Linked DNA regions of Homo sapiens: region 1 is linked to region 2. Evidence: promoter capture Hi-C in human tissues and cell types (Jung and others, 2019). All regions are on one chromosome and are shown on one strand. Each heading gives the region's core, a stretch centred on a gene start or on the middle of the fragment in contact. The rest is flanking DNA. Distances are from core to core; before and after follow the strand shown.

Region 1 (2,700 bases), core at 183-2,682, 120 kb after region 2:
GCTTGTTAGTGAACAACAGGTTACATTCTTTGAGAGGATGTCCACCCTGGTGAACTGTCCATGTCTTTTTCTTGGACTGTCTACTACTTAGCCTATGTTCCAAAAGGATGGGGCAGCTTTCTGGAAACAAAATGGTAAATGAAATCTCCGGGGGAGATTTATAGGTTGTGTCTTCATTGGTATATCCATCAAGCGAGTAAAAGTTTATATGAAACAATATGACTTTCTAAGAAAGGAAGTATAGCGTAGTGGTTAAGGTCATTGACTCTGCAGCCAACCCTCTTGGAATCCCAGCTCTACCACTGACTTGAGCAAGTCACTTATAAGTCTCCATTCCTTAGTTTTTAATCTGTAAAATTTGGGTAATTTACAGTACCTTTACAGAAGGAGAAAGGTGCCTTCTTCAAAAGGTTTTTGGCCACATTAAATGGTTAGATATATTTAAAGCTCAAGACCTGTGTCTCACATGTGTTGGCTGTTATTTTTATTTTTCTCTCTTCTAAGCAAATATGCCATTCTGGGTCCTCCGTACTCTTATTGGGACATTTGCTTTGTACGCTGAAGGATTTGCACTAATTCAATTATACTGTTTCATCCCAGGACATTTGTGAGGAAGCTAGGGTTAGTTAAGGTTGTTGCCTGTCACTGAGAAGCATAGTAACCCCAGCCCTAATCCTCACCCTAATCCTAACGTTTGAGGGTAGATCATGTCAGGATTTATCTAATTCACACACATCTCTTCTCACAGCTCACCCCTGTCTGCAGGCACTGCACTGCTCCAGGACCAATCCTGACCTTGGGCAAGAGGAATTTGAATAGCTCTTGTCTGACGTTCTGGTCATGAGCAAATTGTCTCATAAATTGTCTGGACTATCTGCCCTTCTGCCCCATTCTCCATCTCTGTAATCTTTCAGATCTTGGTTATTTCATTGTAGTAGTTCTTGTCTGGCCCTGTTTTTATCTCTCACTCCTACCTATAGGTCTTTCTGAATACCAATTAGGGGACTAGGGATCTGCTTTCTACAACCAATAACTGATTTCTCAAATTCTTCCTGCCTACATGTCTAAAATTCTGAGCATTTTTGCTCATAGGTTTTATGTCACTGTCACCATCTAATTTTCTAGATGCTTCTCTTTTTTCTTCTTTTGAGACAGGGTCTTGCTCTATTATGCAGGCTGGAGTGCAGTGACAGCTAACTGCAGCCTCAACTTCCTGGGGTCAAGTGATCTCTCACCTCAGCCTCCCAAGTATCTGGGGGTCACGGGTGCATGCTACCTGTGGCTAATTAAAAAAAAAAAAATTATAGGCTGGGCGCAGTGGCTCACACCTGTAATCCCAGCACTTTGGGAGGCCGAGGCAGGCTGATTGCCTGAGGTTGGGAGTTCGAGATCAGCCTGATCAGCATGATGAAACCCTGTCTCTACTAAAAACACAAAAATTAGCCGGGCATGGAGGCAGGCGCCTGTAATCCCAGCTACTTGGGAAGCTGAGACAGGAGAATCGCCTGAACCCGGGAGGCGGAGATTGCAGTGAGCCGAGATCATGCCATTGCACTCCAGCCTGGGCAACAGAGGGACTCCGTCTCAAAAAAAAAAAATTTATAGAGACAGGGTCTCACTATGTTGCCCAAGCTGGTCTCAAATTTCTGGGCTCAAGCGATCCACCCACCTCAGCTTCCCAAAATGTTAGGATTATAGGCATGAGCCACTGCACCCAGCCTTGTGGATCCTTTTCTACCTCCTCTAATCCTGCCTCTTCTGCCACTGTCTTCGAGCCTGCCATCTATGGAATATCTTGATCTGCCTATGATACTGGACTTTCTCCTAGTATATAAAGCAGCATGTCTTCTTTACCTCCAACTACTCCCTGGTACTGTTGCTTCATTTAAGTGGGTAGGGCAGAAATGCTATATGTTCATCAGAACTCACTTTACAACCTCTCTTACAGTTAGGCTTGGTCACGTGACTGAATTATCACAGAAAGAATGTGGGTGGATATGATGTCCACCCCTTGATATGATCCTCCACACCTTCTCTCTCTTCCCATACCTACTATCTGTTAGACACAGAGGCTTGAACAGAGGACTCCAAGGCCATACAGGAAAACAGAGCCATAGGATGCAAGAAGCCTGCATCTCTGAATGACCACATAGACGGCTGCCTATTGACTATGCATATCCACATTGGACTTTGTATGAATGAGAAATAAATTTTTATTTTGTTAAGCCACTGAGATAAATATATATAGCACTATTATCATACTTCATACAATGGGCCTGTCTAAATCCAATTCTTAGCTATTCTGTCTGTTTTCGTTGCAACTATCCAGACAGGCCTGACTTGACTCTTCCAAAGAAAAATACCTCAAATGCACATCTTTGATCTTATGAAAACTAAGCTTTAACTGGTATAACCATATGCAACCTTTCCACATTCTTTAAATAGTCTTAGAACAGTGATCCTTAGACCTCTTTGAAAATCTGACAGGAGCTAGAAATTGTTTTCCAGTAAAATATCTCTATACATACAAAAATACCATGCAAATACCTGAGAGTTCACAAACCCCTGAAGAGCATCTAAGGATTTCAGGATAACTCCTGCTATTGGATTCAGCAATGGATGAAAGTCAGTTTTATATCAGTCTTCTCACACTGAATTGCCCTCTCTTCAATATTAGTTTAAAACATTCATTAGTGAATC
Region 2 (2,725 bases), core at 218-2,717:
GCAAGCAACATGGTGAAACCCCATCTCTACAAAAAAATACAAGTATTAGCCAGGTTGTGGTGGCATACCCTGCAGTCCTAGCTATTTGGGAGGCTGAAGTGGGAGGATCACTTGAGCCTGGGAGGTTGAGGTTGCAGAGAGCTGTGATTGTGTCTCTGTACTCTACCCTAGGCAATGGAGCAAGACTCTGTCTCCAAAAAAAAAAAAAAAAAATTTATCTTTGAATTCTTTCTTTCAATATATTGTTATCTGTATTTCTGTACTGAGTGCTGTGCTTCTTGACCTGTCTCTGCCCTTTTCTGTGTATTTATTTATTTAATTGACAAGTAAAAATTGTATATATTATGGTATACAAATACAGCTTGATGTTTTAATTTATGTATACATTGTGGAATTATTAAGTCAAGCTATTTGACTTAATTGCCCCATATACTTGTCATTTTTTGGGGGTGATAAAGACACTTAACATCTACTGTCTTAGCAATTTTCGATACACGATATATTGTTATTAACTATAGATAGCATGCTGTACAATGGGAGCTCTTAAACTTATTCCTCCTGGGCCAGGCGCAGTGTCTCACGCCTATAATCCCAGCACATTGGGAGGCCAAGGTGGGCGGATCACTTGAGGTCAGGAATTCAAGACCAGCCTCACCAACATGGTGAAACCCCATCTCTACTGAAAATACAAAAATTAGCCAGGCTTAGTGGTGGGCGCTTGTAATCTCAGCTACTTGGGAGGCTGAGGCAGAAGCTTGAACCAGGGAGGTGGAGGTTGCAGTGAGCTGAGATGATGCCACTGCACTCCAGCCTGGGTGACAGAGCAAGACTCTGTCTCAAAAAAAAAAAAGAAAAAAAGAAATGCTGTGAGGAATTATTAGCCATGAAGCTTCAGCAGGCAGGTTAGGTAGCTTTTCCAGTCACATACTGGTGAAGTAAGGATTTGAACCCCAAGACTCTGGTGCCAGAGTAATTGCTCTTCACCATGAGGAGGCACCAGTGGGGGAGTGTTGGATCACAAGCAGTTTCTTTTTCTTTTTTTTTTGTTTTTTTGAGACGGAATCTGGCTCTGTCACCTAGTCTGGAGGGCAGCGGCGAGCTCAGCTCACTACAACCTCTGCCTCTCAGGTTCAAGCGTTCTCCTGCTTCAGCCTCACGAGTAGCTGGAATTACAGGCGCCCGCCACCATGCCTGGCTAATTTTTATATTTTTAGTAGAGATGGGGTTTCGCCACGTTGACCAGGCTGGTCTCAAACTCCTGACCGCAAGTGATCCACCCACCTCAGCCTCTCAAAGTGCTGGGATTAGAGGCATGAGCCACTGCACCCAGCGCAATTTCGTTAGAGACTTGGTGCCTTCCCATTTCTTTTACTCAGCAATATACCAGCTTTAGGTCCTAAATTAAACCTCTTCCTGCTTTCCCACCTGATGAAGAAACGTGCCTGCAGTGTGGTGAGTCTGGACCACGCAGACTCAGAACAGCACTACTCACAGCAGGGCCTCTTGCTCGCTCTAGCTGCTGGGAGGAAAACGGCTTGCTAATCTCCACGCCCAGAAATTCAGACAAGAGCATTCTCCTTATCTCATCTGCACAGGAAGCAGGTCTAAGGTAAAAGATTATTTTTGTGGAAGATTCTTGCTTTTCAGTCTAGTGGTTGAAGTGTGAGCCTGGCAGGCGTTGGATTAGAGAGGGCAACAAGAGTGGAGGTTGTGAGGTGGGGGGTTGCCTTGGGGCTTCCACTCTAAAATGTGGCCTTACCTTGGCCACAAAGGGGTCGGGGGGGTGGGGGAGAGAGAGAGAGAGAGAGAGAGGGAGAGAGCAGCCTGATCATAGCTCGGAGCGTAGAGGTTCTGGTAAGTTCCTTGCCCTAAAGAACACTTAGTTCATTCTGGCTCCTTTCCTGGTGACCATCCTGGCTTCCTGCTTGGCCTTCACCTCACCTTGAGAAATTCAAGTTTCATGTTCTTGTCCAGGCCAAAGACCCAGAAGAACCTTCAAGGTGAGGCTTGGCCCCTTAGATCCACGCCGTGATTTCGCTTCTTTTTCCTGAAGCCTGCACAGATGCCAGTGTAAGCCCACTCCCAGGAAGTCACAGCAGTGGTCTATGCTCCTCCTCTTCACACTGGCCAGTGCTGGGCATGCCTGGACAATCAGCCCTGGAATGGCTGCTCTCAGCCTACAGAAGAAGAGAGGGAAGAGGGATGGAGGGGCTGGGGAGAAGTTGGTGAGAGGACACAAAATTTGGGTTAGACAGAGAAATAAAGTTTTTTTTGTTTTTTGTTTTTTTCTGAGATGGAGTTTCACTCTGTCACCCAGGCTGGAGTGCAGTGGTGTGATCTCAGCTCACTGCAACCTCCACCTCCCACTTGGCTTCCCAAAGTGCTGCGATTACAGGCATGAGCCACCGCTCCCCAGCCTCCTCATGGGATTTTTGAGGATGACATAAAGGAATACATTTAAACTGCCTAGAAGGGTGCTTGGCCCAGAGTATGTGCTAATTAACGTTGGCTACTATTATTTTCCTTCAACCCAGTGCCGGTGCAGGTCTAGAGGAAAGCATGAGGTGATACAGGGGCACCCAGAGGCGGAGTGCTCCCAGGAGCTGAGGGGCATCGGAGGCTTCCCTGGAGGACTGGCACCTGAGCAGAGGAATGGGCAGCACAGTGGCAGTGCCACGTGTGCGGCACAGATGGTGCAGAGGGGATGGGTGGGCACACTGCGGGG

The links. The method cuts DNA at HindIII sites, captures the fragments that hold promoters and counts their contacts. A contact is called where the count stands out against the background at its distance.
Region 1: a fragment that was not itself captured here is called in contact with the fragment with the promoter of S100Z in region 2 in 2 of the 25 tissues and cell types used here (bladder and heart right ventricle).

What each region holds. Positions count from the first base shown.
Region 1 is chr5:76,970,912-76,973,611 of GRCh38, forward strand. It overlaps a transcript of CRHBP not described here. Among named protein-coding and RNA genes, the nearest start is that of CRHBP, 19 kb to the left of the region's middle. The HindIII fragment of the contact is 3,483 bases long and covers 1-2,700 here.
Region 2 is chr5:76,848,547-76,851,271 of GRCh38, forward strand. S100Z (S100 calcium binding protein Z) reads left to right here and starts at 1,468. Exons shown (of 5, transcript NM_130772.4): 1 at 1,468-1,609. The HindIII fragment of the contact is 8,325 bases long and covers 1-2,725 here.